Regions from separate parts of the Homo sapiens genome. Here all the other regions are linked to region 5. Evidence: promoter capture Hi-C in 16 types of primary human blood cells and fetal thymus (Javierre and others, 2016). All regions are on one chromosome and are shown on one strand. Each heading gives the region's core, a stretch centred on a gene start or on the middle of the fragment in contact. The rest is flanking DNA. Distances are from core to core; before and after follow the strand shown.

The links. Contacts are between HindIII fragments. The CHiCAGO score rates a contact against its expected background, and 5 or more counts as called.
Region 1: a contact is called between a fragment that was not itself captured here and the fragment with the promoter of ZNF669 in region 5, in 3 of 17 cell types (naive B cells, total B cells and M2 macrophages). The highest score is 6.5, in naive B cells.
Region 2: a fragment that was not itself captured here is called in contact with the fragment with the promoter of ZNF669 in region 5 in 2 of 17 cell types (neutrophils and monocytes); the score reaches 5.8 in neutrophils.
Region 3: a contact is called between a fragment that was not itself captured here and the fragment with the promoter of ZNF669 in region 5, in 1 of 17 cell types (fetal thymus). The highest score is 6.2, in fetal thymus.
Region 4: a contact is called between a fragment that was not itself captured here and the fragment with the promoter of ZNF669 in region 5, in 4 of 17 cell types (M0 macrophages, M1 macrophages, monocytes and 1 more). The highest score is 9.1, in M0 macrophages.
Region 6: a contact is called between a fragment that was not itself captured here and the fragment with the promoter of ZNF669 in region 5, in 1 of 17 cell types (neutrophils). The highest score is 6.1, in neutrophils.
Region 7: a contact is called between a fragment that was not itself captured here and the fragment with the promoter of ZNF669 in region 5, in 1 of 17 cell types (monocytes). The highest score is 5.0, in monocytes.

Annotation. Positions count from the first base shown.
Region 1 is chr1:247,392,533-247,396,338 of GRCh38, reverse strand. LOC107985375 (a long non-coding RNA gene) reads right to left here. Exons shown (of 2, transcript XR_001738574.1): 2 at 2,477-2,997. Among named protein-coding and RNA genes, the nearest start is that of NLRP3, 22 kb to the left of the region's middle. RefSeq lists a silencer at 3,216-3,498. The HindIII fragment of the contact is 196 bases long and covers 2,400-2,595 here.
Region 2 is chr1:247,457,160-247,460,879 of GRCh38, reverse strand. It overlaps OR2B11 (olfactory receptor family 2 subfamily B member 11), which reads left to right and starts at 2,776. Exons shown (of 2, transcript NM_001004492.2): 1 at 2,776-3,241. The HindIII fragment of the contact is 3,294 bases long and covers 380-3,673 here.
Region 3 is chr1:246,827,173-246,830,510 of GRCh38, reverse strand. No RefSeq gene overlaps it. Among named protein-coding and RNA genes, the nearest start is that of LINC01341, 39 kb to the right of the region's middle. The HindIII fragment of the contact is 7,632 bases long and covers 1-3,338 here.
Region 4 is chr1:247,489,741-247,493,216 of GRCh38, reverse strand. It overlaps the pseudogene OR2W5P. Among named protein-coding and RNA genes, the nearest start is that of OR2B11, 33 kb to the right of the region's middle. The HindIII fragment of the contact is 5,867 bases long and covers 1-3,476 here.
Region 5 is chr1:247,102,563-247,106,048 of GRCh38, reverse strand. ZNF669 (zinc finger protein 669) reads left to right here and starts at 1,693. Exons shown (of 4, transcript NM_001142572.2): 1 at 1,693-1,852. The coding sequence starts at 1,850. It overlaps FLJ39095 (a long non-coding RNA gene), which reads right to left and starts at 1,538. Exons shown (of 3, transcript NR_147502.1): 1 at 409-1,538; 2 at 1-56. RefSeq lists an enhancer at 1,448-1,742. The HindIII fragment of the contact is 5,762 bases long and covers 1-3,486 here.
Region 6 is chr1:247,414,692-247,418,149 of GRCh38, reverse strand. It overlaps NLRP3 (NLR family pyrin domain containing 3), which reads right to left and starts at 1,977. Exons shown (of 10, transcript NM_001243133.2): 1 at 1,957-1,977; 2 at 1-97. The HindIII fragment of the contact is 3,668 bases long and covers 285-3,458 here.
Region 7 is chr1:247,520,736-247,524,404 of GRCh38, reverse strand. It overlaps a transcript of GCSAML not described here. Among named protein-coding and RNA genes, the nearest start is that of GCSAML-AS1, 8.2 kb to the left of the region's middle. The HindIII fragment of the contact is 6,477 bases long and covers 1-3,669 here.

The DNA.
Region 1 (3,806 bases), core at 1,248-3,747, 290 kb before region 5:
CTGCAACATCACAGCTCGCTGCAACCTCGACCTCCGAGGCTCAAGCAATTCTCCCACCTCAGCCCCCTGAGTAGCTGGGACTACAGGCACATGCCACCACACCCAGCTAATTTTTTTGTAGAGATGGGGTTTCACTATGTTGCCCTGGTCTCAAACTCCTGGGATCTAGTGATCCTCTCACCTGGGCCCCCCAAAGTGCTGGCATTATAGGCGTGAGCCACTGCGCCAGGCTCTAGACTGTCTCAAAGTACAGAGCAATATGTTCATTTATATCTTGATTAGCCTCCTTGTCTCATGCGCTGGTACTTTCAGTCACATGGGTTTTTAGGAGAGTGTATAAATCAATTTTGACAGAACCAAAAAATACTTGGTTTTGAAAAAGCATGAGAAAAAGTTATTTCGTTCTACATACAAAAAAAAATCGAGCATATGTCTGTGTGTCCAAAATTCAGTTTTTAGGTGCTTTTATTTGTGCAAATACAAGGAAAGGGGTATTTAGTAACATAGCCATCTTTCTGGAAGGATTTATAAGAATTTGGGTAACAGTGTTTGCCTCTGGAGAGAGGAACTGAGAAATTGGGAAACTAGAGATCTGAATTTTTTTAAAAAAATTGTTTTTCATTGTGTTCCATTTATAGCATTTTAATTTTTAGGCCCTGTGCATGTACAAATAAAAATAAGATTTTGAATAATTAAAAACAATAAATAGTAGGAACACTTAAAAGAAAGAATTATTGGCTGGGCGTGGTGGCTCACGCCTGTGATCCCAGCACTGTAGGAAGCCGAGGCGGGTGGATCACAAGTCAGGAGTTTGAGACCAGCCTGGCCAACATGGTGAAACCCCGCCTCTACTGAAAAATACAAAAATTAGCTGGGCGTGGTAGCACACGCCCGTAGTCCCAGCTACTCAGGAGGCCGAGGCAGGAGAATGGCTTGAACCCAGGAGGCAGAGGTTGCAGTGAGCTGAGATCACGCCACTGCACTCCAGCCTGGCGACAGAGCAAGTTTCCATCTCAAAAAAATAAATAAATAAATAAAATGAAATAAAATGAAATAAAATAAAATAAAATAAAATAAAATAAAATAAAATAAAATAAAATAAAATAAAATGGAGATGAGGTCTCCACACGTTGCCCAGGCTGGTCTTGAACTCCTGGGCTCAACAACCTTCAGGCCTCGGCCTGCCAAAGTGCTGGAATTACAGGCATGAGCCACAGCACCTGGCTGACATATAAGCTTTTGAAAAGCTAGAAGCAAATTCCCCGAAGTGGGGACAATTCTAGTTGTGTAGTAAAACAATAGATTAGACTTTTCTTTTTTCTAAATTTCTGTATTTTCGCATTTAAGTTATTGTGTCTTCTTTTTGCTTCATTATTTCAAATAACACATCATACAATATTACATATGATAGTGATTTAAGATTAGGGAATTTATTTATGTGGTGATACATATTTTATGACCCCATAATATGTGTGAATTGAAAGCCAGAACCATGACTATTGTGAAGCTAACAGACCTGCTGTGGTCTAAATATTTGTGTCCCCTCTAAATTCATGTTAAAATCTAGTCACCAAGGTGATGATATTTGGAGGTGGGAACTTTGGAAGGTGATTGGGTCATAAGTGTGCAGCCTTCATAAATGGCGTTAGTGCCTATAAAAGAGACCTCCAAGAGCTGCCTTGCCCCTTCCATTAGGGTATAGAAACACAGCAAGAAAACACCATCTGTGAATTAAGAAATGGGTTCCCACCAGGCACTGAGTCTATTTGTGCCTTGATCTTGAACTTCCAGCCTCCACAACTGTGGGAAATCCATTTCTATTGTTTATCAGCACCCCCAGTTCATGGTATTTTATTAGAGTAGCCTGAATGGACGAGATGGCCTTCATCGGGTCTTTTCACCATTATGGGCCCAACCGCAGCTCAATATCATTAGAGGAGAAAAAACACTGACCTCCTGCAGGCCATGCAAGAAGGCAAATGGAAATATTGGTAATATTCATTTATAGTGGACTGACTGTGCCCCACTAAAATTCATGTGTTGAAATCCCCAGTGTGATGGTATTAGGAGGTGAGAACTTTGGGAAGTAATTAGCTCACAAGAATGGAGCCCTCTTGAATGGTATTAGTGTCCTTATAGGAAGAGGCCAGAGAGCTCTCTTGCCTCTTTCTGCCATGTGAGGATACAACAAAAAGTTGGCAGTCTGCAACTTGGAAGACAGCCCTCACCAGAGCCTGACCATGCTGGAGCTCTGATCTTGGTTTTCCAGCCTCCAGAACTGTGACAAATAAATTTCTGTTGTTGATAAGCTACCCAGTCTGTGGACCTTGTTATAGCAGCCCAAATGGACTGAGACACCATTTAAAGAACAAAAGAGCAAAACTCCCAAATGGAAAGCTTAATATGTGATTAAGCATTAAAAAATGCAATTCTTATTAGTAACCTGAGAGGAAAGCAAGCTAGATATTCAATATGCTTTAAGTTAGATATTCAATATGCTTTAATTTTTTTGAAATGGTAAATGACAAACAAAAAGTATCATCTACATATTGCAAAAGGGGCTGACACTATCTTAAAATATGTGAAAGTTAAGCTTGAGTTGTACAATTTGGGGGCAAATGTGACTGGGCACTGGGTGTTAGGTGAAGTGATCTATGGCCAACCAGCTGGCTTCTGACAGCAGGGGTGTTAGGGAGGAACCCCTGCCTTAGATTGCCCCAGGTTCTCAGCTCTTGTTCAGCATTTTCTTTCCAGAAAATAGGTCCTTTTATTCCATGTAAAAATTGCAAAGGTTTAAATTCACATAAATTATAAATGGATCCATCAGCACCATCTCTGAGGACAGATGTAGTCAAAAAGAAAGACGGTGTTTTCTGTTTGGAAGAAGAATCACGGCAGATGCAGAGCAGAGCTTAGACAGTGGAGCATGCAGAGGAGCTCTCTTGGCTTCCATCATCTTGCTTCTGGTCAGCCTTGATGAGAGGTAGAGTCCTGGAGCTGGAGGTGGATGTACAGGGAACAATCATAAAAGAGGAGGGAAGGGAGGATGCTTGCCTATTCCCAGGATCAAAAGTAGACATGTAGGCCAGGCATGGTGGCTCATACCTGTAATCCCAACACCCCGAGAGGCTGAGGCAGGAAGATCACTTGAGGCCAGGAGTTTGAGACCAGTCTGGGCAACATAACAACAGTCTGTCTCTACAAAAAATATATATATATTTAAAAAACAAATTAGCTGGGCATGGTGGCATGGACTTGTAGTCCCAAGCTACACAGGAGGCTGAGGCAGAAGGATCTCTTGAGCCCAGGAGTTCAAGGTTACAGTGAGCCATGATTGTGCCACTGCACTCCAGCCTGGGTAACAGTGTGAGACCCTGTCTCAAAAAAAAAAAGCAAGCATCTGCTCCTTTAAGATGCAGTAGACAGACCAGGCCGTGGTGACTCATGACTGTAATCCCAGCACTTTGAGAGGCTGAGGCAGGAGGATAACTTGAAGCCAAGAGTTCAAGACCAGCCTGGGCAATATAGTGGGACCTCTGTTTCTCCAAAAAAAAAAAAAAAATGCAGTAGATAAGAAGTCTCAGACTAGATGAATGCTCACTCAGTCTAAAGGCATTCACCAAGACACCATTGTGGGTGAGGCACAGAGAAGCTTTGTGTCCTCAGAAGGCCTCTCACACTCCGATACTTAAACTCACCTTCACACAGGTTCTTTCTACCATACAGCTGTAAGCACAGGTCCATGTCCAGGCCATGCTGCCTACAGTGTAGCATGTCTAAGATTCTTTTTCATAGTCCTGTAACTA
Region 2 (3,720 bases), core at 777-3,276, 350 kb before region 5:
CATAATTTCGGCTCACTGCAACCTCCGCCTCCTGGGTTCAAGCGATTCTTCTGCCTCAGCCTCCCAAGTAGCTGGGGTTACAGGCATGTGCCACCATGCCTGGCTAATTGTTTGTATTTTTAGCAGACACGGGGTTTCTCCATGTTGGTCAGCCTGGTCTCAAACTCCCAAACAGGTGATCCACCTGCCTCAGCCTCCCAAACTGCCGGGATTACAGGTGTGAGCCACCATGCCTAGCCTGTTCCACCATTCTTAATATGTGACTTGCTTCTTTAAGATTGCTTTAAGATCAAATATGGCTGCTAGGGCGCTAGCCATCAAGACTACGTTCCATGCACAAAAATAGAGAATGGAGGATTGGCTAATATTTTTCCAAGCTTTCCCAGTAATTTTATCTCATTAGCTTCCCCTATCTGTTAGAAAGCCTGGAAAATATCATCACATCACAGAGTACCTTGCTGCATGGAGTAAAAGGGGGTGCCAACAATAAGAGTGGGAGAACAGATATTTGAAGAAAGATGATCAAGACGAGAATTAGCACAATTCCAGTGGGACCCTGTGTCAGTCTCAGTCGTGGGAGTTTCCAACTACAATTGCATCTGGGTTTTCTCAGCACAAAACTGTTTATTCCACCTTTCTTCCCCCAACTGCAGAGATATGGAAGCCTCTCCACTTCTGGAAATTATCCCAGCTGGATAACAAGACAGTGTCTAAGGCCGGGCACGGTGGCTCACACCTGTAATCCCAGCACTTTGGGAGGCCGAGGCAGGCGGATCACCTGAGGCCAGGAGTTCGAGACCAGCCTGGCCAACATAATGAAACCCCGTCTCTACTAAAAACACAAAAAATTAGCCAGGTGTGGTGGTGGGTGCCTGTAGTCCCATAGACTCGGGAGGCTGAGGCAGGAGAATCACTTGAACCCAGGAGGCAGAGGTTGCAGTGAGCCGAGATCGCACCACTGCACTCCAGCCTGGGAGACAAGAGTGAAACTCCGTCTCAAAAAAAAAAAAAGTGTCTAAGATGTCCCTGGTGCCTCATCTGGCTCTCCGTGGGAGAGAGTACAAGAGAGCATGCTTAGAATCAGGGACAGCTCCCACTTCTTCGCCAAAGCACAGTCGCCCCATCTTCTTCTGGGACATATTCTCTCCTCCCTCCATCCCCAGAAGGTAAAAATAGAGCCCTAACTCATGGCCATGACTCACCCTGTGTCCACTTAGACATCTAAAGCTAGAGAAAAAAGACGATCGAGTCAAAACCTAGAGAGGGAGAGTAACTGCACCAAGGTGCTGCTATTCACAGTGGTTCCCATAGCAGCATTTAATCACATGAATTGTAGCTCATGAATTAAAATTTGCGCTACAAGAATTCTATTTGGCCATAAAAAAAATGAAGTCATATCTTTGCTGCAATGTGGATGGAATTGGAGGACACTATCTTAAGCCAAACAACTGAGGAACAGAAAGTCAAATACCAGATGTTCTCAGTTACAAGTGGGAGCTAAATTATGTGTCCACAGGGATGCAGAGGATGGAGTAAGAGACCCTGGAGACTAGGGTGGGTAGGACGGTGTCAGGGGGTGAGGGAGGAGAAATTACGTGGGGTAAAATGTACGTTATTCGGGTGATAGTTACGCTAAATGCCCAGATTTCACCACTGCACAATATATCCGTGTAACAAAATTGCACCAGTAGCCCTTAAATTTATACAGATAAGAAAATAAAAGAATAAATAAAATAAAATGTGCACTACTTCTTGCGGCCTGTCTTAAGAAAGATTTTTTTTATCCCCTCCATGTGAAAAATATAATAGGGTGCTGAGACAATATATCAACAACAACAACAACAAAAAGCCCTCAACATGTATCACTCTGTGCCACTCATTGTTCTGAGTGCTTTACAAGAAACAATTCATTCCACCCTTGTAACAGACTGTGCAAAACAATACTAATGTTTCTTGTATTTTTAAGAAAACACAAGTGAGGCACAGATAGGTTAAGTAACCTGCTCAAAGACACATGGCATGAGTGACCGAGCCTGGTGTTGAAGCCAGTTCAGGTCTCATGCTTTACCTGAATCACACACTCTAGTTACTACTCCACTCTGATGTTACAGTAATCACCTCACCACGCACCAGCCCTAAAGAGTTCAACACACACACACACACACACCACACACCAGCCCTAAAGAGTTCAACACACACACACACACACCACGCACCAGCCCTAAAGAGTTCAACACACACACACATACACACACCATGCACCAGCCCTAAAGAGTTCAACACACACACACATACACACACCAGCCCTAAAGAGTTCAACACACACACACACACCACGCACCAGCCCTAAAGAGTTCAACACACACACACACACGCCACGCACCAGCCCTAAAGAGTTCAACACACACACACACCATGCACCAGCCCTAAAGAGTTCAACACACACACACACACCACGCACCAGCCTTAAAGAGTTCAACACACACACACACACCACGCACCAGCCCTAAAGAGTTCAACACACACACACACACACACACACACACACACACACACACAGAGTTCTTATTCCCCATTATTGATCCATTTTCTCTGGTCTTCTGGGATTTGCCATTAATTGCAAGAACTCCAAGCTCTCACACCACCTCAATTATCAGCTAACCCCTTAGACACTAATTAAATAAAGCATCAGGGATAATTTCACAGCCAGAGGAGAGCAAGTTTTTACTCTCACGTCTGGGGAGAATGAGCAGGGCCCTTATAGAAAACAGTGGAGAGAATGAGGTCAAGTTAAATCTGAGGGATAATTTTGAAATGAACAGAGAGCGTGACACGGGCAAGGTGTGTTGCCTGAAAGCCTTATCCTCGGAAGTAACCTCCACCATGTCAAGGTACCTATAGGCACTCTGGGGGACTAAGGTTAAGGCAGTTCCACCGACCTCACGTACTGCCAAGGGAGAGTCCGGGAAACCCTGAGTCTCCCCAGCAAGCCTGTTGCAACGGACAGCAGACTCCTTCTAGACTGAGAATAATCTCTCAGACTTGCTCAGAGGGTTGGGTTCCAGTAAATGGTAAGGTCCCAGCAGCCCATCAGAGGAAATGTGCTGTGTGTTCCTGGAATATGAAGAGCATTTCTAGTAAGTCCATCCTTAAATGTCCCTCCGCGACTAAGGCCAACACAGACTGCAATATAGCCTTCAGTCCTAAAGCAAGTCTTCTGTAGGAGCCAGGAACCCTGGAGGTGAGTGATTCATCCTCAACTCCAGTCAAACTGAAATCTGTACAGTGCAGTGGAGGTGCAGGATGGGCAGTATTAACACTGGGCTATGCTGGAGACCAAGGGCACATGAGGTGGAGGATGGATGGGTCGATGAGCAATGGCCACGTATTAAGCAGCAAGTGTAAAATTGTGTTGTGTGGTTTTATCTAGAAAAGAGAGCCGGGAGCAGAACAGGATGCTCTGCCTGGAGGTAGGCACGCTGTCTGACACTCATCTGAACAGTGGACGCTGCACACAGTGTGTGGGGACGCTGAGTCCCTTTCCTCCGCTTCCTCCTATTTTTGAGGCTGCTGAATCACAGTCACAAGGGCAGTAGTGAGCTGAGCAGGGCCATGGAAAGAGAGAAAAAGAGAATGCAGAGCTGAATCGTATCAGTCCCCGAGAAAGCAAGCTTCAGGTTGAAAAATCTGAAAAAGTCAGACCACATAAAAAGGCGATGA
Region 3 (3,338 bases), core at 10-2,509, 280 kb after region 5:
ATGTTTCTTCATGTGCTGTTTGTCCTTAGGACCATTAAAAAGTGTTTTTTTTTCTTCATTTTCATTTTTTAATGGATAATTTTTCACTAGTTTTACTGGGGAGTTCACCAGTTATGCAGGAAGTCAGTATCTCCACTACTGTAGTTATTGTTATTAGTATACCTGGGTGTTAGAGAGCCAGCTCTTCTCAGAAAGTTAATGTGACTAGAGACAAGCCTTTCAAAAATTCCGAGGGAGTACAGGAACAACTGCTTGTCATAATAGCTGCTAAAAGTAACACAATTAGAGAACAAACTGAGGGAAGGGTAAGTTCTTGGCTTAATTTCTTACTAGGTATAAAGACTTGCAAAACAATGAACTTGGATAACAAAGAGAAACTGGAATGATTGACTCCGAATTTGTAATTTGACTGTAGAGAGAGAAGAATTCTGGGAGCAAATGTGTGATTTCCATGCATTCCAGAACTACCACCACTACACAGGACCCTAAGAATCCAGAGCATGTGAAGACATTTACTTTTGACCTGGCATATTGGTCTCACAATGGATTTCAAAGGGATAAGGATGGTGTCCTTATTTCAGCTGATCCTAGTCGTAAATTTGCAGGCCAGGTAAGTTGCTTTAAAACACAGCTTCAATGCCAGTTTTTTGTTGTTTTGTTTTTGATGATGTGTTCACAGTGTGAAAGTATAATAATTTTATGCAAGCATAAATCTATGTTTCCATATGAGAATTTCACTTTAAATTTACTCCTTTTCTATGCTGAACGTGAGGTCCAAAAACACAGCTATGGCCTAAGTAATTTTTAGATACTCAAATCAGTTCATTTGCCAATGTATTGACACACTGAAAAAGGTATGACAGTCAAGTCAATTATATTTTGCTTCCTTGAGATAAGCAAAATAAGCAAACTGTATGAGGCACTTAGCATCTGAGAACTTCTGTTTTAATGAGCATTTATCATATGCCATGCACTGTTCTGCCTGAAAGTTGCTCACAATTTGGTTTGGGGAGACAGGAAAAAAGTACACTCAGATGTTACAGGCTCTGTGATAAGATGTATGGGATACAGTGGGGTACAAAGGTGAGGTGGTCATTCAATCTAGACAGGATATCTGGTGAATGGTTTAATAAAGGGTATGATGTTTAGGCTGAATTTTGACAGACAAGGAGAAACAGTCAGAAAAAGTTATGGGGAGGAAATGAACAGAGCCTCAGTGACATGTGGGACAATCTTACTCTACATGTAATTGGAGTCACAGAAAGAATGGGAGGGGCGTGTGTGCAAAAAATACTTGAAGGAATGATGGCTGAAATTTTCCCAAATTTGATGGAAACTATAAACCCACAGGTCTAAGAAGAGCAATAAGTCCTAAGTAGAATAAGGAAAATCACAGTAAGTCTCATTTTAATTAAATTGCTCTAATCCAGTGATAAAATCTTAAAACAAGTGAGAAAAGATGGAGGAACAACAAGAATGACCGCAGATATATTGTCAGAATTATGCGAGCTAGAACACAATGGAGAGACTTACGAGCTGAAAGCAATTCTCAACCTTGGGCAGGAGCAGTGGTTCATGCCTGTAATCCCAGCACTTTGAAAGGCCGAGGCAGGTAGATTGCTTGAAGTCAGGAGTTCAAGACTAGCCTGGCCAACATGGTGAAACCCCATCTCTCCTAAAAATACAAAACAAAACTAGCTGGGCATGGTGGCACATGCCTGTTATCCCAGCTACTAGGGAGGCTGAGGCAGGAGAGTCACTTGAACCCAGGAGATGGAGGTTGCAGTGAGCTGAGATCACACCACTGCGCTCTAGCCTGGGTGACAGAATGAGACTCCATCTCAAAAAAAAAAAAAAAGAAAAGAAAAGAAATTCTCAACCTAGAACACTGTGCCCAAGAAAATTTTTTTCTAATTTTGAATCTTTCAGAAAGATCACTGATTGTCAAAGCAAGAATAAATTCTGTTGGGATTCAAAACAAATACAGAAATAAAATATGACTACACCAAAAAAAACGAGACAGCTACCAGAAGTATATTGTTTGAAGGTTTTGCATTATAGAGGAAGTAATATAATATTTGAAAATAAAATATTTTAAAGAAATCTATTGTGACCCTAGAGCACAGGGTTTGTTTTATTACAAACACAGGGTGATGTTTTATTAACATCAGTTAATAAAAACATTAAAAATCCATTACTAGTAAACATACATAATATAAAAATATTTTTATGAAAAGTAATTTTTTTTATTATTTATTGATTTATTTATTTTGAGATGGAGTCTCACTCTGTCACCCAGGCTGGAGTGCAGTGGCGCAGTCTTGGCTCACTGCAACTTCTGCCTCCCAGGTTCAAGCGATTCTCCTGCCTCAGCCTCCCAAGTAGCTGGAATTACAGGTGTGTGCCACCACACCTGGCTAATTTTTGTATTTTAGTAGAGATGGGATTTCACCATGTTGGCCAGGCTGGTCTCGAACTCCTGACCTCAAGTCATCCGCCCGCCTCAGCTCCCAAAAGAGCTGGGATTACAGGTGTGAGCCATCACGCCCGATCTATTTTTATTTTTCTTTAGAGATGAGCTCTTGCTCTGTTGCCCAGCCTGGTCTCGAACTCCTAGGCTCAAATGATCCTTCTGCCTCTGCCTCCCAAAGTGATGGGATCTTAAGTGTGAAACACCATGTCAGGCCAAAAAATAGTACTCGAGCCGACACTGAAGAGAATGGCACTGCTTTCCATTTTTTGAAATCTCTGTAATGTCTGACTTCATGAAAGAGCTTGATTCTCTGCCCTGCATGTCATCTATAAAATCACGTTACATAGCCTCTGGCAAATCCCACTGCACACGTTACTCCACTCTACGCTCATGAGAGGATGAGAATGAAAAAAGCAAACATTAGTACGATCACAAAAGGAAGTGTCACTTTACAAACACCCTGAAAAGATCTCACAGACCCTGGAATGCACTGTGTGAACTGATGCCCTAGAGCAATCAATACAAAATAAATAAATAAAACAAGTATAACTAACTAATGAGTCAAGTGTGGGGAAACGGAACTATAAAACATTCTTTACCCCTCTTATCCTGCCATGTTTGGGATTTAGACACAGAGGAGATGGGATAAGTAGAATACAAATAGCAAGACAGTAGATTTAATGCCAATAATTTATATCAATTATTATGTAAAACATAAATAGTCTAAACATGACCAATTAAAAAGCAAAGATCATCAGATAAGATAGAAAAAGCAGGATCCAACTATATCTGTCTACAAAATGTGTGTGTGGGTTGGGGGTGGTTTAAGTGCTTCTGTATCACAGGATTTTTAAAAACCTGGTTT
Region 4 (3,476 bases), core at 187-2,686, 390 kb before region 5:
TCCATAATACAGATGAAAAAGGCTAGGCTTCGAAAGCTAACTGGTGAGAAGATAAATCAGTTCCAAGTCCAGATATGGATGATACTGTCTTCCCCATGCCTGGTGCACAGGATCATTCATACCCAGTGAAGGCAGCCAGGGATTCAGAATGCTACAGGAAGAGTCCTGGGTAATGTGAGGAGCTGGATTTTTATTATCTCTAAAACAATGATTTCAAAATCTATCATCAGTAACACCTAGGGAGCTTTTTAAAGACAGAGATGCCTAGACCCACACCTGGCATTGTAGATTCAGGAAATTTGGAGAGTTCTTGGAAATTTGTGCCTTAAGCGTTCTGATGCACGATCAAGTTTTGGAAACACTGCTTTTAGTAATGTCCAATTCCAATATGCACTGATTTTATAAGATTGGTCATCAGAGTTATTTGTGGAGGTTGGGGGTGGTAATTAATTTGAGTATAGGACAGCTCTCTTTGAAGTAGAATATTTACAGCTGTTTAATCTGCTAAGGAGAACAAATTCATTCTATCTGGATGTGTATCATTTGCTCTGTTCTTCCCAAAGGCTTGCATTCCTGACTAGAGTCAGCTCTTTTGTAGGTACTTTGGCTATGCGAAAAGGTCAAGGAGAAGATGCAAATAACTCTGAGCAAATTCTGCTTTTTCAAAAAGCAACTCAAAGGACATTCCCCACTCATACAGAACCAACCTGTATCCAGGACAGGGCACTATAACTTTACTGATGTTGACCCCTCTCTCTTTGAAAAACTGCCACAGAAGCAAATAAAAGGGCTTGAAGAAAAGGCCACTCATGTTGTCTCAATTTTTATTTGACATCCATGACATAATCTGCAGACTGCCCAGTGCCTTTGGGTGATTGAATTAGTTTTGTAAGTCCCCAGCAGTTGTGGATAAATCAAAAAGACAAGGAAAGTGCAAGATACAGCAGAGATATCCTGAAGCAGGCAACTTCAAACAGAAGGAAACCACTTCACATCCAGAGGGCAGAGGACGGGGTCAAACTCGAAAGCATTTTCCCACCCGCGTTCACTCTACTCCTTGAATATTAGTTCTCCACATGGCCACAGACACATCTAAGAGAGTAACTCCAGCAAACTGTCTACATTACTAGAGTGTTCCCCTCGTTGAGGCTCCCCAGCCCCTTTCTCCCACCCCAGAAGTTTCTTCATGGTCCCCTTCACATCCTTGTTCCTCAAAGTGTAGATGAGGGGGTTGATGCTGGGAATGACGATGGTGTAGAAGAGAGTCAGGAACTTCCCCTGATCTTGGGAGTAGCTGTTGGCCGGCTTCAGGTACACGTAGATGATGGTTCCGTAGAAGAGAGAGACCACTGTGAGGTGAGAAGAGCAGGTGTGGAAGGCTTTCTTTCGCCCTGCTGCTGACTTCATCCTCAGCACCGCGGCTGCAATCACGCCATAGGAGATGAGGATGAGGGAGAGCGGCACCAGGAGGAGAGCCACCCCCAGGGCAAAGGTGAATCGCTTCTACCAGCATGGTTTCCTCACAAGACATGGCAATAAGAGCAGGCATCTCACACAGGAAGTGGTCCACCCTGCGACGTCCACACCGGGAGAGCTGCATCGTCTGAGGACACATGATGAAGGAGTTTAGGAAGCCACAGCACCAGGCCACAGTCACCAGCTGCAGGCAGAGATGTGGGCGCATGACTGCCATGTAGTGCAGGGACCGGCAGACGGCCACATAGCGGTCATGGGACATGACAACCAGGAGGACGCACTCGGTGGAGCCCAGCATCATGTAGATGTAGAGTTGGGCCACACAGCCGTGGTAGGTGATGGTCTTCTCTGGACCCCCCAGGTTCCACAGCAGCTGAGGGGCAATGCTTGCTGTAAAGCAGAGATCTAAGAAAGACAGATTCCCAAGAAAGAAGTACATGGGTGTGTGGAGCCTGACATCCATGACCAGCAAGAGGATGATGGCAGTGTTGCCCACCAGGGTCAGGATGCAGAAGATCAAGATAACAGCAAAGAGAATTTTCTCCAGTCCAGGCCGATCAGAAGAGCCCACCAGGATGAATGCCTGTAGGTAACTGGCATTGTCCTTTCCCATAATCCACCAGCTATTACAGAGAAACAACCAAAGAATTAGATAAGGGGGCACATGCAGATGATCTGGCACTCTCCAATTTCCATTTACAGGTCTGTGAAGTTAAGAGAGCCATTTGCCCTTTCTTTGCTTTTTTAGAATAGACTTATTGAAACCTGTTACATGCAAAGTCGTGTGCCTGATGCCCCAGGAAGACGGGATGAATTGACTCTGGAGCTTCCCTCCTTGGTGAATAATGTGTATGAATAATGACAAAGAAGGGAGAAAGAGAAAGTTCTCTAAAAGAAGATGCGTTAAAAGGCTGAGTATTATGCAGATCACTCCCAAGTGATCAGGAGGGCCTGTGTAGAACAGTTTGTATTAAGGGAGACTGCTGAGTCTGAGAGTTGTTTTTGGTTGTTGCAAATAATAAGTAAGAATTTGACATGTGGCAGATTGAGCTAAATATGTTTCACAAAGAGGAGGTAGTATATACAAAGTCATGAAGGACCACATTTATGGGTGATGCTTAAGGAAGCCATGAATGTACGTACCAGGCAACTCCTTAATGGCATGTAATTTTATTAAGATGAAACACAGTGATTTTTGACCCTACAAGAAAGGACTGTGATGATAGGTTTAATTCTGCCTCTGTAAAACACAGGTCTGCAAATGTATGGCCTGCTATTCAGTTCATCTCTCTCTAACTTGGCTTTTCCTTGTGCAACATGGGAAAGAGGCTAGATCTTCTCTAAGTCCCCACTCAGACCTCACATGTCTATGTAACTGGTGACACTGAGTATATACCCTGAGCACTTTCAGCTATTGAGGATTTCCACAGTCTAAGCCAAGGGCTTTGATGGGGACTCTGCCTTATACAGCCAATATCCACCCAGGCTTGTATCTGCTATGATAATAGCAAACGGCATCTGGGCAACACACAAGAAGGAAGCTGTGGGAATGAGGGCACAGAAACACATTGAAGGACATGTGTCTATGCAGCCGCTGTCACCACCTGTCCATCCTGACAACTGACATGCTATGAGCTGTATCCTGTTGGAGCTGCAATTGGGAATTCTGTAGTTCCCATCCATTGGTCCAGGCACCGGACCCTCTGCAAAGCCCTATGAAAGGGTAAAAGAGGCAGGGTCTATCAGAAGTAGCCAGCCAAGTGTCAAAGAATGGAAGACTTTCAGAGGCTTCCTGAGTACTCACAAAGGAGACTTTCACAGACACACATTTTACAGGTGTTGGTTATTATGAACAACTTGTACTTCTGTATCCTCAGACCTATCATAAGTTTTCTCCCAGGTTCAGGAGACCTCAAGAGTGGCAATGACAAGCTACACAAATTGCTCAGCAACTTTATCACTTTGGGTGATAAAGTTGTGATCACTTTGGGTGATCTCAG
Region 5 (3,486 bases), core at 444-2,943:
GGAGCCCGGCGTTGGGCACCAGAGACCAGCCTGGGCAACTGAGGGAGACCCCATTTCTACGAAAAAAAAAAAAAAAAAATTAGGCAGGCGTGGTGTCCAGTGCCTGTAATCCCAGCTACTCCATGAGAGATTGGACAAAACCTGGGACCAGAGACTGATTTTCTTCTAAAATGCTTTCTCCAAAATATTTTTAAAAGAAAAGGGGGAAATTGGAAAGGAAAATGTTTTGAGCCCCCCAGATCACTAAGCTAAAGGGGAAAGTCAATCTGGGAACTGCTTAGGGCAAACCTGCCTCCCATTCTATTCAGAGTCATCCCCTGCTCACTGAGATGAATGCATATCTTATTGCCTCCTTTGGAAAGGCTAATCAGAAACTCAAAAGAATGCAACCGTTTGTCTCTCACCTACCTGTGACCTGGAAGCCCCCTCCTGGCTTCGAGTTGACCCGCTTTTGCTTCAGGTTGTCCCGGATCAAACCAGTGTTCATCTTACATATGTTGATTGATGTCTCCTGTTTCCCTAAAATGTATAAAGCTGTCAGATACAGTCAGTTTCTCTTCCAAGGTTTGGCATGTTAACTTTCTTGTTTTTTTGTTTTCGAACTCAACTTTCTTGTTCTCCATGCCTCCTTGCCCTTAGTTACTGTAAACAACCTTCCGTCAGTTCTAATCAATAACTCACATCTGTTCCCTTGGTTACCTGCTCTGCACCCATTTCTCCCTTGGAAACCGCAAGTCCCACCATTGTAACTCACATCCCCCTTCCCCCTTCCTTATTTGGGAAAATATTCACAAATAGCCAACCGGGTCAGTTTAGATCGTGCGGTCTGACCCCAGCCCATGCCAGAGGTAGGGACTGCGTTAGGAATAAAAACCCCTGCTTTCCTCTGTTCAGTGTGCTCTTGCGATCGTGATTGATGCGAGCAGCACGCTTCTGCAGAAGTAAATTGCGTTGCTGAGAAAACTTTCGCTTGAGTGCTGGTTTCACTTTGCGGCACCGAGCATTTCTCTCCAACAAAACCAAGCTGTGCTCTGACCACCTTGGGCACATGTCATCAAGGACATCCTGAGGCTGTGTCATGCATATGCATCCCCAACCTTGGCAAAATAAACGTTCTAAATACTCTTACCCCAAATGCTCAGGGAGACTGATTTGAATAATCATAAAACTCCAAGCCTGCACTCCAGCCTGGGAGACAGAGCAAGATTCTGTTTCAAAAAAATAAAATAAAATAAAAAAACTCCGGTCTCCCGCACAGAGGACACTGCGTGAATTACTCTTTCTCTATTGCTATTCCCCTGTCTTGAGAAATCGGCTCTGTCTAGGTAGCGGGCAAGGTGAACTCCCTGGGCAGTTACAGAACTGTCATTATATTGCTTCCAATTTTATATATATATATATATATAAAAGGCACAAATAGCTATAACTTGTATACAGGTTAAATGTGAATGTCCTTCTTGCATGGTCGGATCCCAGCGCAGGAAGGACGCACCGCCTACAAACCGCTAGGCCAAAAGCGGTCATTCTGACCTCATCCAGCCTCACGTGAGATCGCAATCTCCTGTCACTCAGGGCCTGAGGGGCGGGGCCTGAAGCCCCATCCAATCAGGGGCGCTGGGGTGGGGACCGTTCAATCAGGCGCGCCGCCGGAAAGGAGAGGGCGGCTTCCGGGATCTGCCTGGCGGTTGCTTTGTCTCTCCTTCGCCGGAGCCGGCTCTTCCTGTTAGTCTCCGCTGCTAGTTCTTGGCTCTGGGAGGCCCAGGTGGCTCTGCAGCAGCCTCTGCCACCCTGTGACCTGCGAGTATTGGGACATCCCTAGCTGACGCCAGGACACCCGGGAAGCCGAGGAATGGTGAGTGGACTGCGCCTGGCTTCCCGAAGTGGAGAAGAGGGCTGGTTGAAACCTGCTGTGGCGCGACTCGGGCCTCCACGCCATCGGCTCCGGAACCTGCGGACCGAGTCGCCGTGGCGTAGCCGGGGCTCAGTCCTCTTCTGTTCAGGGCCGGGCCGGGCGGGGCGGGCAGCGGAACCCCTGCATCCTGTCTGTACCTGCGGGCGCCACTTCCGCCGGCCGGAGCCCTGTCGGGAACCCCTCGCCTCCCCTATCCAGGTAGTGTGGTGACCACGGGAGGGTGATGCGGGAGAGCCCCGACTCGGTGTCTCGGTGTGCGGGGTTCCAGCATGGGAGGAGCTGTGGTTCATGGGGCTTCCAGTCCCACCTTTCTTCCCCTAAAATTAAGCCGAGGCTTTGTTAAAACGTTAAACCGTGTGTTTGAGCAAACGGCGATTCATAAACCAGGTACCGCAGTCATGGTTTGTGGTTTGGGGTCCACAGAAGGGGCGTAAATGAGAGGCTTTGATAAGGTTAATGAGGAAGCAAACCATATTCTTTTTTTTTTTTTTTTTTTTTTTTTTTGGAGACGGAATCTCGCCCTGTCGCCAGGCTGGAGTGCAATGATGCAGTCTCACTCATTGCAACCTCTGACTCCCGGGTTCAAGCGATTCTCCTGCCTCAGCCTCCCGAGTAGTTGGGATTACAGGCGCCCGCCACCACGCCCAGCTAATTTTTGTATTTTTGGTAGAGACAGGGTTTCGCCATGTTGGCTAGGTTGGTCTCGAACTCCTGACCTTAAGTGATCCGCCCGTCTCGGCCTCCTAAAGCGCTGAGATTACAGGCGTGAGCCACCGCGCTCGGCCAAAATATTTTTCTGTTTACAAACATTTTACATGAGAGGAAAGCGGAGAATAAACCATCTGACACTCTACTGTAAAAAAATCTTTGTGCCTCTCTTCATCTTTCCTAAGTGTGCATATTACCAAAATGTCTTTAGGTTGATGTCCCCCTGTGAAAACTTTACAGGGTGTTGTGTCCTCAGCCCTTGGTCTGCTTGCTCATCTCTCTGCTAATACTGTGCTGTCCTGAATATTTTTGGTTGAAAATCTTAAAAGTATGTTAGGCAAGACATAACTCTTTTTTTAGATGACTGAAAATCATTAGACATTTGTCATTTTTACTAGGTATGAAAAACTAGTTTTTCTTGCCTAAAAAAGCCTGATTTGGGAATTTATGTGATTTCACAGGAATAGCATCTGGAAGTGGTGACATTAATGTCATTTTAAAAAACATGTGCCATATTTCCTCTTATTCCATTCTGCCTTGACATTGTGCAATAGAAATTTAAAAATTGTATTAGTAAATTGTTAAATATCAATTATTGGTTTTATTTACTACTCAATTAAATTTAATAAGCCTATTCTCTCTTGGTGTAATCACATGGAATGGGCTCAACTCCCCAATTAACAAGTGACAGCACATATAAAATATTGTCTACCAGGGAAACTCATTAAACACTTAGTGTTCAGACTGTGTTTTGGTGTCTGGTTCCCTAAGCACCACTGCAGTGACACAAAATAATAGACCTTTAGCAGAAAAAGTTTTGGCAACTATATTGCATAAACCATTTAGATGCAGTGAGTCATTCTTAT
Region 6 (3,458 bases), core at 869-3,368, 310 kb before region 5:
CATCTTGACCCATCAGCAAGAAAATTTTTGTCCCGTTGATTACGGGGCTATGACATTGGACAAACTCTTCACTATTCCTCAACTTCAGTTTCCTCATCTACAAAATGAGAAAGCAGAAGAGAATGTTTTCAGTTCCTCCAAACTGAAGGCTCTGGCTCTTTGCTTCTGTTTTTGTGAGGGAAGAGGGATGAGAGACAATAGAAGGAGAAGGCCAGGAGGTGAGTAAGTGTGTTGATAACAGAACAGGACGTGGCTAGGGAGAGAGGAGAGAGAACATAAAAGCTTGCAGAGGAGGGGACAGTCTTTGACTGCACTTCTATCAACCAGTGGATTGAAGTGAGATGAAGCTGGGAGTGCATAATGGAGAATAATAAAAACATACATCCCTGTAATCCCAGCACTTTGGGAGGCCGAGGTGGGCGGATCACCTGAGGTCAGGAGTTGGAGACCAGGCTCACCAAACAACAGGGAGAAATCCCGTCTCTACTAAAAATACAAAAATTAACCGGGCATGGTACCAGGCACCTGTAATCCCAGCTACTCGGGAGGCTGAGGCAGGAGAATCGCTTGAACCCAGGAGGCGGAGGTTGCGATGAGCCAAGATCACACCACTGCACTCCAGCCTGGGCAATAAGAGCAAAACTCCATCTCAAAAAATAAAATAGAATAAAATAAAATAAATAAAAACATACATCCTTTAATGTCTCCTTGCAAAATTCGCAATTGTTATCATTATAATTCACATTAATTTAGAGCTTTCCACAGGCTAGGCACTCACTGATGTTTTTCCCCATCTAACCTGCACAGAGCTCTATGAGGTGCACCTATTCCTAGCCCCATTTTATAGATGCATAAACTGAGTCTTAGGGGGACTAGGAAGCCTGCCGAGGGGTTTAGAACCAGGAAGGAACAGAGCCAGGATTTTGACCAGAGATATGAGACCATGTCTTCCATCACTTGTTTCAGTCAGACAAAGACAAAGACAACAAAATAGATGACTAAAAGACACACTTCCCCAGCATTTATCACAGGTGTATCACTGCAGCATTCACCAACATAGTCTTCCCAACTAGACTGTGAGTTCCACAAAAACTAGCAATCACCTGCTGTATCTTTAGATCTTCCATATCTCCTAGAGTCCGGATGGATGAACAAGTTGGCTTTGTTTGGAATTGTTCCCTCCTTGATCCCTTGATTATACTCTATTTGGCAAAGCACCTCAACCTAAAGCCATAAATAACACTCAAGGGAGGCAGAGAGCCTGGAAAACGGTGGAGCTCTCCAAATTGGAATTTCTGTGACTGCAGTTCAATGTCAAGATGCCTCAGACTCACTCATCTCTCCCGTCCCATCTCCATTCCTGCCTATCTACTCCTCGCCTCCTGAGCCCTGCAAACCCAGCCCTGTGCATCCTGAGGTGACTGCTCTCCAGACAGCCCTATTAGCTCCGCATACCCTCCCAGCTCCTGCCCATCCTGAGGTGACTGCTCTCCAGACAGCCCTATTAGCTCCGCATACCCTCCCAGCTCCTGCCCCATCAGTCCTTCCATCTGCATCAGGATTCTGCCTTTCTTCTGTGCTCCTTCCACCCTAACACCAGCACAAAAATCTGCTGCCCTTTGGTCTTTAAGGAGGTTTGTTTCCTTCTGTATATCCCATCCATCTTCTCCCCTGGGAGGGATACTGGGCAAATCTGCTGAAGTCGTGGGTGTAAACTATGGTTGCTGCCGCTGTCCTCCCCGCTTCCCCCCGCCACATACACACACACGAACTTGCACACGTAGAGCCCAAATAATGATAAAAGAACATTCCAGAAATGTTGTTGAAGCACAACCTTGGAGACGCCAGAAGAAATTCCTAGTGCATTAACCAGGACAAGTTCTGCCCTCTGAACACAATCTCCCCCACTGCTCTCCCGGTCCTGTCGCCCACACTGCCCCGCGGAGCTGGACTTACCCAGATGCCAGCCTCAGGAACAGCTAGAGAGGAAATGCAATGAATTTATAGCAGTCGCAGCCCCAGAAGGGGCAGGAAGGATGTGGTCTCCACTTACATCAGAGCAGAGGCAGAGAGACTAATGGTTAATCACATAGCTGGATTTTCCAAATGGGATCAACAGTGTTGTCAAAACCGTGTCTCGGTTCCATACTGGGGTTCACCTTGCTCTCCTCTGAGGCACCCCACAGAAGCAGGGTGGGAGGCCAGTATGAGATGGGGCTGGGGGTCAAATCGGCAGTGCTAAATGGATGTTGCCTCTGACACTGCCCGCTGCAACGGCTCCACTGAGAGTGAGGGAAGTGAAACTAAGGACATGCCATGCGAGTGAGTAAAGAATCCAGAGCATGACCTGACCCAGCCTTCAAACTCCAGAGTCCATGCCCTGTCCTCTCACAGCAAGATGGCTGGAAGGCAGTACAGGTTCTCTCCGACATGTTCTACTTTTAAAGCACAAATTTTACTCCCTGACTCATTGACTCACCTGTTCCACTAACACTCACGGAATGGCTGGTATGTGGCAGGCATGCACACAAAGCCTCAGCTTGAGTAGCTTGAGGAGAGACACACACAGACCTACTCTGCAGCTCATGAGACGGCCGCAGGACCACAGACCGGCAAAGGCACAAGTTCAACAGAGCTTGGTGGGTGAGAGGCACTCGCTCAGCCTCTGGGTGAGTGAAAAGGACGAGCACCCAGTTCAGTGGAGGGATGTCAGCAAATGACTGGGTCTGTCTGTGCCTCATACCTGTAAAAGGGTGACAATAATTGCCTGCTACTTCTTTAGATCTTCCAAATCTCCTAGACTCAGGATGGATGAACAAGTGGTTTTGCTTGGAATTGCCCCCTCCTTGATCCCTTCATTATACTGCATTTGACCAAGCACTACATCAACCCAAATAACGGTACCTATCCTAGAAGGCTGTCAGAAAACACTGAGTGAATGGCTAAACGTGAGGCCTTTAAAACAGAGCCTGGCACAGAGAAGCTAGAATAAGCAGTTGGTTCCGATGACTACCACCTTTCTACAGAACTGCAGAGAGAATGCTCTACAACATGAGAGAGGCATCTAGTCCTGCTTAGGGGCATGACAGCAGACCTGAGTCTCCATGAACCAGGTGAAAGGTGTCATTCGGGGCTGGAGCTGAGGCAGGAGCAGCAAAAACTTCAGGTGCTGAAGCTAGAGAGAAAGCAGACCAAATATGCTCCAAAAGAAAGGAGCTCAGCCTGGGTGCAGTGGCTCATGCCTGTAATCCCAGCACTTTGAGAGGCCAAGGCAGGCAGATCACAAGGTCAGGAGTTTGAGACCAGCCTGGCCAACATGACGAAACCCCATCTCTACTAAAAATATAAAAAAAAATAGCTGGGTGTGGTGGCGGGCACCTGTAATCCCAGCTACTCAGGAAGCTGAGGCAAGAGAATCACTTGAACCTGGGAGGTGGAGGCTGCAGTGAGCTGAGATT
Region 7 (3,669 bases), core at 148-2,647, 420 kb before region 5:
CCTGAAACAAAGGAGGAAGTCACACAGCATGGGTATGGAGGGCATCCCAAGGGGAGGGAGTAGCCAGTATCAAGGCTTTGGAAGAGGAAGGGCTACATGTGTAGAAAGGCTGGTGTGGCTGAAAGAGAGTAAGGGAAAGAGTGGTGGGAAGTGAGGTCTGAGAGATCCCTCAGGCCCAGGTAATAAATGTCTTAGAGACCCTAGATGTATGGAATTTCATATTTTCAGACTATTTGGAAGAAGTAAAGGGCATGATAAGCCTTCATGCTTGGAGTTATGCTTAGAAATGGCCTGCGATCTTCCAGATTGTATTTATCTTCTCGTTTTATGGTTTTCTATTTTATGTTTAGGTTTTCAATTCACTGCATCTGCAGAGTGTGTGTGTGTGTGTGTGTGTGTGTGTGTGTAAGACAGATGTTGTTTTCCAAATGTTCAGTCAATTGTCCCAAAACAATTTATTTCGCTAGCTGTATTTTCATTATTTGCTTCAAATTATACCTTTACCATATTCAAAATTTCATATATGTGCAAATTTATTTCAGGAATATCAATTCTATTAATATTTATTCATTTATTTTATTTCATTCACATTTGTAACACTTTTAATAGCTGTTGATGTATAGTATATTTTGTCATCTAGTAGAACAAGGCATCAATCATTATCTATTTTTCTAATTTAGACTTTTCATGGTTGTCACTATGTTCTGCTCTACCAAGTTAAAGTCACAGCTAGTTTCCTCCTAACCCAAAACAGTATCTTATTGACTGTGGTTAGTATTGAACTACATTTTTAAATTAATGTCTGGAAAATTTACCATGTTTGCAGGACCAAGACTTCCATGTGGATAATGAACAAAGGAACTGAAGCACGGGGGTGGGATCATGTCATTAAGTACTTGCTATGGGTCCTGATGCCTCACTTGACTATGAATCCTTGGTCAATAAACCCACCTCTCTGAACCCTGTTGTCTTTATCTGTAAAGGGTGGCAAAAACACCAGTCTTGAAAGGTTTCTGCAGAGACTTAAGTAATGAGAAATTGGTACTCAATATAATGACTAGCACAGTAAAACCTCAATGAATGTTAGGAATTATTCCTGTCTATATATGCATGTAGATCTTTTATTCCTTCAGGAAAGATTTCCAGTTTTCTTCATATAGGTCTTGATTATTACTTGATTATTACGCTGCTGTAACAGAGACCAAAACTACAGTGGTTCAAAGGAGATAAAGTGTATATAGGTTGAAGGGGCATCTGTTCTGTAGGAGGTTGCCAACCCCAAACTGCAGAGCAAGAGCTACTGACAAACAGTAGATGGAGGTTCATTTATTTACTAAAAATGATAAACATTTTTGATACAATAGAGGATTTCATATATATTTTCTAAAACTAGACTGAGTGTTAGCAATGTGAAGCAGTATTTGTTAGAGCACTCAGAAAAATTTCTCATTAAAAGTTATACGTTATGGTTTTTTTTTTTTTTTTTTTAGTATTTATTGATCATTCTTGGGTGTTTCTCACAGAGGGGGATTTGGCAGGGTCATAGGACAATAGTGGAGGGAAGGTCAGCAGATAAACAAGTGAACAAGGGTCTCTGGTTTTCCTAGGCAGAGGGCCCTGCGGCCTTCCGCAGTGTTTGTGTCCCTGGGTACTTGAGATTAGGGAGTGGTGATGACTCTTAATGAGCATGCTGCCTTCAAGCATCTGTTTAACAAAGCACATCTTGCACCGCCCTTAATCCATTTAACCCTGAGTGGACACAGCACATGTTTCAGAGAGCATGGGGTTGGGGTTAAGGTCATAGATAACAGCATCCCAAGGCAGAATAATTTTTCTTAGTACAGAACAAAATGGAGTCTCCTATGTCTACCTCCTTCTACACAGACACAGCCACAGTCTGATTTCTCTATCTTTTCCCCACATTTCCCCCTTTTCTATTCAACAAAACCGCCATCGTCATCATGGCCCATTCTCAATGAGCTGTGGGGTACACCTCCCAGACGGGGTGGCGGCCGGGCAGAGGGGCTCCTCACCTCCCAGAAGGGGCGGCCGGGCAGAGGCGTCCCCCACCTCCCAGACGGGGCGGCGGCCAGGTGGAGGCGCCCCCCACCTCCCTCCCGGACAGGGCGGCTAGCCGGGTGGGGGCTGCCCCCCACCTCCCTCCCGGACAGGGCGGCTGGCTGGGCGGGGGCTGCCCCCCACCTCCCAGACAGGGCGGCTGCCGGGCGGAGACGCTCCTCACTTTCCAGATGGGGCGGCTGCCAGGCGGAGGGGCTCCTCACTTCTCAGACGGGGCGGCTGCCAGGCGGAGGGGCTCCTCACTTCTCAGATGGGGCGGTCGGGCAGAGACGCTGCTCACCTTCCAGACGGGGTTGCGGCCGGGCAGAGGCGCTCCTCACATCCCAGACGGGGCAGCGGGGCAGAGGCGCTCCCCACATCTCAGACGATGGGCAGCCGGGCAGAGACGCTCCTCACTTCCTAGACGGGATGGCGGCCAGGAAGAGGCGCTCCTCACTTCCCAGACTGGGCAGCCGGGCAGAGGGGCTCCTCACATCCCAGACGATGGGCAGCCAGGCAGAGATGCTCCTCACTTCCCAGACGGGGTGGTGGCCAGGCAGAGGCTGCAATCTCGGCACTTTGGGAGGCCAAGGCAGGCGGCTGGGAGGTGGAGGTTGTAGCGAGCTGAGATCATGCCACTGCGCTCCAGCCTGGGCAACATTGAGCACTGAGTGAACGAGACTCCGTCTGCAATCCCAGCACCTCAGGAGGCCGAGGCTGGCAGATCACTCGCGGTTAGGAGCTGGAGTCCAGCCCAGCCAACACAGCGAAACCCCGTCTCCACCAAAAAAATACGAAAACCAGTCAGGCGTCGTGGCGCCCCCTGCAATCCCAGGCACTGGGCAGGCTAAGGCAGTAGAATCAGGCAGGGAGGTTGCAGTGAGCCAAGATGGCGGCAGTACAGTCCAGCTTCCGCTCGGCATCAGAGGGAGACCATGGAAAGAGAGGGAGAGGGAGACCGTGGAGAGGGAGAGGGAGACCGTGGAGAGGGAGAGGGAGACCGTGGAGAGGGAGAGGGAGACTGGAGAGGGAGAGGGAGACATTATGTTTTTCATAAACTGTTGAAAATGCTTACAACCTTGTAACAGTCTCATCAATCCTGTTATAATTAATACTGCAGGTATATAAAAATTGAGTGGATTCTCAATTTTTTTGGATTCCCAATTCCTAGTTGGGTGGATGGTTAGAAAGATGCCTATAGGATTTTCTCCTTGCAAAAAAAAAAAAAAAAAATGCAAGAATGTAAATTCAAATTCTAAGATTTATTTCACCACAGAATAAAATTTTTTTCTAACACAGTTGCTTGACTAAGTTTATATAGGCCCACACTAAATGCATGTGGTGTAGTGCCAGAGGCAATGTCTAGTACACACCAGGCTAAGCATACTAAAACTATAAGACAGAGCAGTGAAAAAATTCAGAGGCTTAATAAGAAACACAGAAGATTGCAACAAACTTCTTTTCCCTTTCGGAAATCAGAAGATAAAGTAGTATAGACGTAAGTTGGTTTCCCCTTTTCCCTTTTTGCAATGTCTATAATTTTTTTAACCTCTAATAATCCAATGAGGAAATCTGAACTGAAAATATAAGGAAAGACTGTCCTGCTTGAAG